Linked DNA regions of Homo sapiens: region 1 is linked to region 2. Evidence: promoter capture Hi-C in 16 types of primary human blood cells and fetal thymus (Javierre and others, 2016). All regions are on one chromosome and are shown on one strand. Each heading gives the region's core, a stretch centred on a gene start or on the middle of the fragment in contact. The rest is flanking DNA. Distances are from core to core; before and after follow the strand shown.

What was found. The method cuts DNA at HindIII sites, captures the fragments that hold promoters and counts their contacts. A CHiCAGO score of 5 or more calls a contact.
Region 1: a contact is called between a fragment that was not itself captured here and the fragment with the promoter of SYNE1-AS1 in region 2, in 1 of 17 cell types (neutrophils). The highest score is 5.2, in neutrophils.

The regions. Positions count from the first base shown.
Region 1 is chr6:152,434,856-152,440,737 of GRCh38, forward strand. SYNE1 (spectrin repeat containing nuclear envelope protein 1) reads right to left here. Exons shown (of 146, transcript NM_182961.4): 33 at 1,086-1,246. Among named protein-coding and RNA genes, the nearest start is that of SYNE1-AS2, 36 kb to the left of the region's middle. The HindIII fragment of the contact is 6,697 bases long and covers 1,187-5,882 here.
Region 2 is chr6:152,378,846-152,384,851 of GRCh38, forward strand. It overlaps SYNE1-AS1 (SYNE1 antisense RNA 1), which reads left to right and starts at 1,685. Exons shown (of 2, transcript NR_120501.1): 1 at 1,685-1,748; 2 at 2,215-2,868. It overlaps SYNE1 (spectrin repeat containing nuclear envelope protein 1), which reads right to left. Exons shown (of 146, transcript NM_182961.4): 56 at 2,161-2,517. The HindIII fragment of the contact is 6,155 bases long and covers 1,282-6,006 here.

The DNA.
Region 1 (5,882 bases), core at 3,285-5,784, 59 kb after region 2:
ATAATATTGCAGTCTCAAATTTATACCCTGAATGTGCCTAATGCTGTCAGCAGTACAGGTAATGCAAGCTGTGTTATATTGCAACTTTTTAAATTAAATAAAGGTTAAAATGGCTATTCTTAATAGAAGTAAATTCCTTTCTAATAAACTCTGTTTTACTATTTCCATAACTTGATAGAGAATATTTAATGTAATATAAAGTCCTCAAAATTTCAAGTCATAATTTGTTTTAAATAAAATATGTATCAAATTTTAAAGTTTAGGCAAATGTAAAATGTTAATTTTAAGCTGTTAATAGTATTAAAAACACATTTTACATTTTAAAACCCACCTTAGAAATGATGGCCTGTCCCTTAATAATAATATGCTATTATGTATCATTGATTTGCCACTAAATTATGTTAAAAATAGAAATGTTTAGCCATATTGTTTTGAATAATATTGGCTGTATCCTCATATGTTTTTCCCCTCCAAACTTTTTTGTATATTTTGGGTATATAACAGGATATCAATAGGCCAAGCAGTTTTTTTTTTTCAGATAAACAAACATTAAAAGTTTAAAAATAAAATATTTTAAAGTTAATTTCTGGAAAGAGCATATTAGTCAGGATAACTTGAATACCGAGGCACTGTAAACAAGCTCCAGGAGCTTCTTCAGGTTGGAGATATATGGTCTATGTGATGTGTATTTAGGCCTGGAATCTACACTAACAAAATATCTCCTTTTCGCTCTAAATGGTGACAGCAGAATAATATAGTAAAAAAATTATTTTAAATATTAGTTCTTTTTCAAGATTCCCTCTACAATGTACAAAGGCCACAGAATAGAATAGATATGGCTTTCTCATGAACATGATCAGTTTAAGATGCAAAACCCACATCCTTTATATTTTTTGGGCTCTGTTATAGATATTGGTTTCTGTATTAGCGATACTTTCTTTTGAACTGTGAGTTGTTTCCTCAAAACATGCTGAAATACACAGACACTTTGAGATTTTAAAAGAGTGTTTTGAATACAAGGTACAGGAAAGATTGTATGAAACTTTATCTCAGAGAAGAAAGTTTAGGACTTGTCAATCACATACTCTTCTTCAAGCGTGTCTTCTAATTTTTTGACTTGTTCTTTGATTGACTTGGCCTGCTGTTGAAGCAGCTGCTTATTTTGGGGCCCAAGCGGTATCTCTGAAGCTTCCTTTACAAGGTTCTCAGCCTGGACTGCAATACTTTCTGTCCGTTTAGAAAACTCCTAGAAAAAATATTATGATCATTAGGTAGGCACTTTATATTATTTATCTCTGCCCTCAAATAAAGTGCACATATTGCATACAGAACAGATGGGTGGATGAAGACATAGAGTCATACATGTATGGATCTTACATTGTTCTTAACAATAAATCTGACTTATTTCCATATGGCCAAAATAGACACTTTGCTAACAGTTTTTTATTTTATTTCTTTTTTTTTGAGATAGGGTCTTGCTCTTTTGCCCATGCTGGAATGCAGTGGTGCAATCATGGCTCACTGCAGCTTCCAACTCCTGGGTTTATATGATTTTCCTACCTCAACCTCCTGAGTAGCTGGGACCACAGGCAGGCACTACCACATCTGGCTAATTTTCTGATTTTTGTACAGATGAGGTCTCACTATGTTGCCCAAGCTGATCTTGAACTCCTGGGCTCAAGTGATCCTCCAGTCTTGACCTCCCAAAATGCTGGGATCACAGGCAGGTGCCACCATGCCTGGCTAACTTTTTAATTTTCTATACACAACCAGCTATTTGCCTTCATAGTTTTCCAATAATACTCACAAAAATTGTTTCTCCTTTGTTTCCTGGTTTTGTCTCATTGTTTAGAATTCTTAGATCCATTATAATAATTAATTTATTCACAAATATGCTTACTTATTACAGGCCAGTTCACAAAATCAATAGTGATTGATCATAGACATAATAGATTTCTAGGCCAATGAATAGAAACATTTATTTATTTAATGTAATATCTTAGTCAAAAGAGACTATCAATGATCTTTGGCCAGGCATGACGGCTCATGCCTTTAACTCCAGCATTTTGGGAGGCTGAGGCAGGAGGATCACTTGAGGCCAGGAGTTTGAGACTAGCCTTGGCAAAATGGGAAGACCTCCATCTCTAGGGAAAAAAAAAAAAGTGACCAGGCATGATGGTGCATGCCTGTAGTCCTGGCTACTCAGGAGGCTGAGGTGAGAGGAGATAGAGGCTGCAGTGAGCAGGCATAATGGCGCCACTACATTCCAGCCCAGGCAACAGAGCAAGAATTTGTCTCAAAGAAAAAAGAGAGAGAGAAGTAATCAAGCCATTTTGTTAACTAGTTCTCTGAAAAGAGCTATAATCTAATCTTAGTGCTGTTAAATCTTATTTATTACATACACATGTATCACATGATGGAAAGAGAATATAAGTTTTGAACCAGTCAAGCCTGGGCTAGAATCCAGGATCACTAGTTGTTTGACTTTGGTGAATTATTTTCAGGCTCTTTCATGTAAAATGCAGATGATAATCCTTTTCTTAGAAGGTTACTGTTAGCATTCTATTAGCAATCTTACTTTTAAAGTGCCTAACACTCTTGGAGATACTGATTATTGTTTTTTATGTCTCTCATACAAACTTGAGGACAAAATGATTTATTAAGCCAATATACTTATTTTAAATATTTTAAAATAGTTGAAAATACTTATTTTCAACTATTTTAATTGAAAAGTTGATTTAGTATGTATGTGGCTGGTAAATATTAGATGTTACCTGAATTTTGTCAAGTAATTATATTGAATGCTGAATTAGAAAAGGTAAACCCAGTAATAACCTAAGTGAAGAAAATGTACTTGGTATCTCACTTCTTCTCATGTAAGAGAATCTCACAGGAGGTTTAAATTTTGATCAACTCCCTTCTCCTAAATGAATAATGTAGAAATATAAGTATTTTTCCAAAGTCAGCTTTTCAGTAAGAGCATCTCCTAGAACATAGTACCATATAAGATAGAGTTACTAAATAATACTATTATATCTTCATGTTTAAAAGACTTAATGTTCTCATAGAAATATCACGAGTTCGGCCAACAAATATCAGTGTTGGCCAAGATTGTGCCACTGCACTCCAGCCTAGGTGACAGAGTGAGACTCTGTCTCAAAAAAGAAGAAGAAAAAATCAATGTTACTTCAGAGAACTACGTTGCAATTTAAGAGAATAAAAATGAATAAGTACAGCTTCCTTATGGCATAGAGATTTATAGTACACTAAAATATGGTAGTTGCTAATGTCACAACATTAAATTCTTTGGATAAAAGCACCCACTGTTACTATATCTGACAGTCATGGTAGATTCAATTGTGGAGATTACAAATCACCACATGATCTCTTAGAATCCCATGAATATAATCAGAAGTGAAAAATAAAGTGTTTTATTTTTTTCTGCTAGTGTTTCTCAGAACCCAGGAAAAACATGGAAAAAGTAATGTTTGAAAATGCTTATATACATTCAATTTTAGAGCTTTTTATGTGAGCTATGTATGGAAAAAGCATAATGCAGAGAAATCGAAAGAGCAGAATGATGGTGATAAAAAAACAAAATTAAACAAAAACAGAATAACATTGTAAGGCCTTATCTCTAACTTCTTAGAAAACATATGAGTGGCAGGCAGCAGGATGCATCAGGTAAAAATTGACTCACATTAGATTGATCTGGGATGAAACCTAGGCTCCAACCTTCATTAGCTGAGTGACCTTTGGCCACATCTCTCTGAATTTTCCTTTCTTCATCACTAAAGCCATATCTTATTTTCAAGATTAAACATGACATTGCTATGAACCCTCTATCACACACACCAGTACACAGAGGACACTCAAGTCCCTTAGCATAACCATTCCTTAGCACAACTACTCAAGGGCTATCAACTTGAATAAAGGTTTGTAATAACAAAGCAAAATGAGCAAAGAACTACAGGAGAACAATGATTCTAGATTGGCAGTGAGCATAGGCAATTAGTAAAATGGCTCTGTTTTTTGAATGAAAAAATAACGTAGTGACTAAAGATGTGGGCTCTGGAAAAGGACCTTTTGGATTGAAATCCCAACCTCACTATTTAGTGATCCGCAGATCTTGAGTGAGTTCATCACCAACTTTGTGCCTTATGTGTCCTTCCTCATATAACACGATTGATAATGATACCTATTTCTTAGGACTGTTTTGAGGATTAAAGGCGATGATAAACATCAAATAATTAATTCGGCATATTATATGTGTTTGATAAATGTCACCTCATATTATTACATCAATCCCAAAGCATAGAAGACCATGGACAAAGGAGAATTTGAATAACAAGACTCAAAAGATTCCATTTGTTTCAATCTACAGGTACTTAAACTGATCCAAAGGAATTAGTGCAAATGGAATCATAGGGGGTCAGAAACTCTGGCTGGAACGTGGTCAGAAACATTTAGGAAATTAACCCAATAAACATCTTTGTATTTATAAAAGGCACCTGATACGTTTTTAATACACGAAATAATTTATTTATTTTTTAAAATAGAGATGGGGTATTGCTATATTGACCAGGCTGGTCTCAACTCGTGGCCTCAAGCAATCCTCCCATCTCAGCCTCCCAAAGTTTTAGGATTACAGGCATGAGCCATCGTACCCGGCCAAATAATTTAAATTAAAAATTAAAATAATGTTCTATTTAAATGACTGATGAATATCGTATAGACTTGAAAGAGTCTGTGGTCTTAGAAAACTTCAAAATCCTCAGTGAGTTTTTAGGAGAAACAAAAAATTAGCAGTATGGGAGAGAGTGAAGCCTTTTGCAGGTAAGAAAACAGAAACACAAAGGTTTTCTTGCTAAAGGCTAGGGAAGGGTGGGCACAAGGCTCTTCTTTCTAAGACACCGGTTAGTTCATTTCTCTACTAATTCAGTCTTTCTATAAACCCCAAAGAGGCACCACAGGAACTTCAATGCTTGGTACAAATTGGTTGGTCTGCTTAGAGTGTCCAAGGTGTTTGAGCTTGTAGGGTTGGGTTCACCAAGTACACCTACTAAATACGGTCTGTTTGATGCCCCATTGGAGTCTCAAAATCGCTACCTCCAAAATGAAGTTGGTCATCTTTTCCCATGAACAACTTCTCGTTCACATCCCCCATCTCACTTCCATTGTCTCCGTCAGACTCAAAACCTCAGGTATCAACATTTTCGTCACTCACTCTGTCTGGTTAGTTTCCCTATCTTCCTGTGAACTCCACATCTTTTGTATCTGTTTCTGTGTAACACCTGCCACCCCACCGCCCTTATTTATGCCCATATTAACTCCCATATGCCCATATGCAATAACTTAAATGGATCCCATGACCCCAGTCTTTCACACTTTCAGTCACTTTTCTACACCTGCCTAAAAATTCATCCAAAGCCCAGCTCTGATCGTGTGGCTTTTCCTTTTAAGCCTTCAACAAGTCTGGCTCCATGTTGCCTAGAAAGTAATGCTTTAGGTCTTCAAGACTCTGAAATATGGGCCAAATTTCCTTTACAAATTCATTTCCCATTGTTCTATTTTACAACACAGAATTCCTATTCAGAACACTTGTATGCTCTATGCCATTCCACCTTCCAAAGAATGTCTGTATTTTGCTCCAAACTCTACTAAGTTTTACTGACCTTTAAGGTTCAGTTAAAAAATATTATTGCCTCCAGATTTTTTTTTTTTTTTTTTTGAGATGGAGTCTCACTCTCTTGCCAGGCTGGAGTGCAGTGGTGCCATCTCGGCTCACTGCAACCTCTGCCTCCCGGGTTCAAGCGATTCTCCTGCCTCAGCCTCCCGAGTAGCTGGGACTACAGGTGTGTGTCACCATGGCCAGCTGATTT
Region 2 (6,006 bases), core at 435-2,934:
CCCCACCTAGGCTGTGATTATGAGAGCAGGAATGACATTCTCTTGGTTTGTCAATTCTTTATTTAACTCGGTGTCTGGGCTGGAGGAGTCTAAGACATTTTTATTTACAAAAATTCATCAACAACTAAACAATTTCTCTCTGAAATTCCAAACACTAAACTAGGACCAACTATTTTACACCATATGGAACCTTTTACTTAAGACAGAACATTGTAAGAACTAAAGAAACTTAGCATTCAACAAAAACATAAAAATACTGGAGATTCAAGTCAGTTACTTATGAATGGGATGACATTAAAAGTGAAAAGTTTTTGACCAAAACGTTACATTTAAAACATTTCTATAACTTCATCCTAAAGTATGTCAGTAGAGTCAATATATAAATATCAGCTTATGTATTTCTGATTCTGTTAAGTTCTAGAATGCATCTTTCCACCTTATACAGCTTAAGAAAATTATTTCCAAAGCTAATATCCCAAAGGATATTAAGATAAATGAGTTTCGCAAACATAGTAAATAGAATTATTTTTACAATATTATATTATATACTTTATAGATCATCTGTTTTTATGTTTTAAAGAATTTCTTGAGTATTGTCATCTAATTGCATAAAATAAATACTTTAATTCTTATTGTGATCATCAACAATGACAAGTCCTCCCTAAAAGCAAAACAATGCCCTAAGAACCCTAGCATATTTACTATTTTGTTAACATTTTCTTACATATTCATTGTGATAGAAATATCTCCACTTTTAGATAAAATGCCATTATTAGAAATAAAAGAAAACATGAATATTGAGAAGCAATGTAGCATTGTCATCAAAAGCATTGACCCTGGAGTCAAATCTGGAAGCAGACATACACAGAGGGCTGTCACATTTGAACTATTTAACACAACTGAAAACCCATATTTACTACTGCATTCTCATGTATATTTTTATAGGCCTCAACCATTATTTTTACTAATAATATCAACGTAAAAATAATGAACAGAATAGTAATGTAATCTAGGCACAGCCAAATCTTTCCTTTTTAAAAATTTCACTCTGTGACTGGAATAGAAAGAAAGGGAAAGAAAAAGGAACCAAGAAAGTGTAACTGATTTTTTCATATTATACCATGTAGAGCAATTATCAACTTCTTTGTCCCTCTGTGACAGAACTGATTTCTATGCTTTATTCTGGTACATAAATCTAAAGGACAGGAAATGGAACAGAATAACAAAAACAAACCCCCAAACCTAGAATCATTATAAATAGAGTAGCATAAAGAGGTAGAAAGCTTTATTTTATGGCATGCTGCATTTGTTTCAAATACTTGATTTAAAACCAGACACTGCTGGAAATACTACATGACTTTCTTACTGGCAGGAGCTATTTTGAAATGATTGTAATATAAATAGGAGCAGAGAAGTTTACTAAATTTCCTTTTAAGGACATCCATGAATCAGGGCATTATAAAACTGGAAATATTGAAAAGGCTTTCAAAGATACTGTTTAACAGTGAAAGAAACGAAGAAGAGGTTACACTCTTGCTCATTCTTCGGTCTCCCTTGTAGGCTTCCCTTTCTCACATTCTAAAGAAGCTGCCATTAGCTTCAAAAAAAAAAAAAAAGTCTCGGGAAGGTGACCAGGGAGGGTGACGTAGAGTTCTGTTAACAGGCTAATTCAAGAACAGCTGTCAAAACCACACAGAGGAGAGCTAATCGGGGAGATAACTATTTGCTGTGCTGTAGGAGATTACCAAGTGAGTCTTTTAAGGCTATAAATTCAATCATTTAGTTGTATGAAATAGTTAACTGGCAAGAAAACAGCTATGACTCTCTGTCTATTTATGCCCCTGCCCACAGGCCATTTTTCAGACTGAATGGCTGAATACAGTATTACAGACTCTTACACCATAGGAATGAAAGTAAAATGTCTCCACTAACAACAAATGTTTCCTACCGCAAATAATAACCCAAATCTTTATTTTTACAAAAGTTTGATATATAAGAAAAGGAAACAAATCAGACTTTGCTTATTTAATGAGATAAATACTTCTTCCAAGTGTGCATGTTGCGTGTTTTTAGTTAGCAAGATTTTTTTTTTAAGGAATGATGAAAGTCAAAACATTTTTTAAAGCATAACCACCAATAGAAAACAGGAAGCCAACTTACTTGTCCTTTGTGCCAGCATTCCACTATCTCCTCATCCGTGTTCTTGCCTTCCAGGAGGGTTAACTGCTGAGCCCAGGTTTTCAGAAGGGCACTGAACTGTTCCAGGGCCTGCTCCAGTTGAGCCACTTGGCCTGAGAATTCCTGCTCCGAAAGGGCCATCTGGCTGACCAGGTTCTCCAAACAGCTCTGCGTTTGGAATACACTGTCTTCCCACTGCTTCCAGTCGGCACGCAGGGCCTGCATCTCCGTGTGCATGAGCTCACACCCACTGGCAGTTGTGTTCTGTTTCACTTCGGGAGCCAGCGACTCCACTCTGCTGAGACGGCTTGCACCAATCTCTCTGGAATCTATCAGCTCCTGTAATGGAATATCACCATGGTAACTGAAGAGCCTGTGAGTCACTTGGACTGCAAGTTTTCAACTGTGTACACAGGGGGACCCTGTCCTGCCAGGAAGTTTTAACAAGTGTGCCACAAGGACCCAGAATCAATTCATCTGTCCACTCTTAAATTATAATAGCGGGAGTTGTCATCACGAGTGCCTAAGGCTTATGGCAAAAAAATCCCGAGAATCCTCAATATCCTGAAACAGACTAAACAGAGACCCTGAAATCAGGCATTATTCGCACACGTGAAAATGTTTAGTGACTCAAGTGTTTGCCTGTGGTGGATTGCTCCTGTGAATGATTAAACCCATATTTCCCTCAAAGTGGATGCTCAAGTAAATAAAGATCGTGGCAGAACTGTGTTCTGCTCACGGTCTCTATACTCAATTCATCTTCTTCAACAGGGTGGTGGCTTAAATCACACTTCCATTCTACTAGGAATCAAGCAGACTCATCACAGCAAAAGAATGAGCCCTACTCGATTCCAAATACCTCAATACTAAGTAAACATTTTTGTAGCATATAAAATGAATAATTCATTCATAGACTGACTTACTCAAAAGTTTAAAGTAACCTCTAGACTGAGTACATTTATTAGTATTTTTTTACCTTAAAAAAGTCACTAGAAATTTAACAGTTTAGCTATAGCCAAGTTAACAATTTAGCTCGATCTTAAAGCACACAAATACTGTAAAGGAAAACAAGATAAAATTAAATCACATTGTTAAATTGATATAATTGCAGCATTTCTGAGAATAGATTCTCTTACTAAAATTTTTCTTGGTGAAATAATCATCCGATGTTTATATATTTACATATCTATTGCTAAAGGCAGGATTTTGTTAATATTATTACAAAATTATGACTTTACTACCGGATTAAATAGAAATAAAAGATAATCAGGCACAAAAATGTTCAAGAAGAAAATCAATGACCAATTAGCAAGTAAAGAAACATTGGAATGTTAAGTATGAAGCATGCTTAATAAATTATGTTAAGCATAAAGTATGTCTTAACTAGTCTATATAATATAGTTTGCATCTCATTAAATTAACTTGAAATAAATATATCTGTTCATAATTATATACAATAGAGCCATATTTTAATATAGATCATTTGAAAGTATTTAGTATTCAGTTGTGCAGTAGTCTAAATTACAATGACATGAAAACCCTTACACACAGCATGATATGTATATTCAACCTTCTCAGCAGCAGGATTCTAAAAACCATCACTGTTTATTAGTGTGTATAGTAGTTATTTGATGAAGAAAAAAATCTAACTTTTTAACCAGTGCTATGTCTAACTAATAGACCTTAATACTTGTAATTATTTTGCCTTTGTGAGCAATTTCAAATTTGAAGTTTCCCAAAATACTCTCTTATGCTTTATCCCAATTTTCCTTAGCATGAAAATGGAACACTTCAATATTTGCAATCAGAAATCTAGTCATTCAGAATTTGAATAAGGACATCATCATTGTCAAGAGTTTTGAAATGGCTTTTGCATATATTTTCTTATCTTGTATTTACATTTTTAAACATATGATATACACATACACACATATGTACATTCCCGCCCTCACACCCATATACATTTTGCTTTAGAGTTGCCTTTTCTCAGTGATTATTCCTGTGGATGTGATAGGTATGGTGTTGAAGGACAGAGGAGGTGCTTTATGTATTTCCTCCAAGGTTTTTAAAACCACCCACACACTAACCTACATTCAGGCTGGACCTGAACTTCTGAGAGGCAGTTTCTGATAGTCTTCACTTTCTCCATCCCAATTTCTTTCTGCCAATTCCTTCTCCCATATTCCTTGTCTTTATGGAAGCACTTTATAAAGGCTTTCTCAATAAAAAAGAGTATTTGTCAACCCAGGAAGCAGCCTTTGTGAAAGAATTATCTTACTTTCTCTTATTTATTAACTTTTTGAAACATTAGTCCATTTCTGCTATCTCCTCTTCCTCACTTGCCATTTACTCCTAAATCCATGTAACCTGGTTTCTCACCTTCCCTTGCTGTGCAAATGTTTCTCAGACTGGTTGCCCAACAGCCTCATTGTCAAACCTAGTTGGGATTCTTTAGTATTCCTCCTAATGGCAGCCTCCTGCTGTACCTGTGATGGCGACCACCTTCTCTACTTAGAGCCTCAGTGGCATCACACCCTCCTACTCTTCCCCTTCTTGTTTTTCCCCTCCTTTTTCTCTCTACCTTTCAAATCATTTTCTCCTATGGCTCATTAAATATTGGTAGTACCCAGCTTTTGGTCCTGTGCCCATTGTTCTATTTGCTCTATACATAGGTCTTGGTTTTATCTGTTTTAGTGGCTTTAACAACAAATTAGACACTAATCACTTTCAACTCCATGTCTTCTATCCGTCTTCTTAACCTGAAATTCAGTCTTGAATTTACAACTGCCCCCAAGACATTACTACTACCTGGCAGTTCAAACTGGATCTGATCATCAATGAACAGCTCATGTCTTCACCTCTATCACCAGGCTCCTCCGCATGCAATTATTTTCCTCAGGTGGTAATAGTCCTGTGGATTCTAGGCAAAGACTTGACCATCATCCTTGACTCTTCCCACCTTGTCATGCTATAGCCCATTAATCAATCATTTACCAAATCCACTGGATTTTCTTATTGGGTGTGTTCTATGTGCCAGGCATGATGCTACAGGTTTTATGTGTATGATCTAATTTGCTTGTCAAAACAACTTTATCAGACAGGTACTATTTTCATGTATGTATTTTTTAACCAATTGAGAGGTGGAGGCTTGAGGACATCAGGTAACTTGCTGACAGACACGGCTAGAAAGCCAATAGAAGGAGGATGTGGCATTGGGTTTCTTTGATTCCAGAGCCTGAACTCTAATAGTACAGTAAGCTCTCATTACATTTTTTGTATTATTTTATAAAGACCAGTTTGTGGATCGCTGTTCCTCACTAGACTGCAAGTTCCTTAGGGAATGCACAGTCCTGGCTGAATAAATGGATAGATGGGTAGATGGATAGATGGAAGGATGGATGAATAAATCAGAATATTACGAAGAAATGTATCAAAGAAGAATTTTAAAGAATAACACACAAAAAAAGGACTTAAAAAGTGGTTTTATGTGATTATCTCAGTTAAAACATACATAGTCATAAGATTTAAATAAGATAATACTTTTAAAGCACTTAGAAGCAGATCTTCAGGGACCGGGCACCATGGCTCATGCCTGTAATTCCAGCACTTTGGGAGGCCAAGGCAGGCTGATCACCTGAGGTCAGGAGTTTGAGATCAGCCTGGCCAACATGGTGAAGCCCCGTCTCTACTAAAATAAATACAAAAGTTAGCCAGACGTGGTGGTCAGCACCTGTAATCGCAGCTACTCGGGAGGCTGAGGCAGGGAGAATCACTTGAACCCAGGAGGCAGAGGTTGCAGTGAGCCAAGATCGTGCCACTGCACTCCAG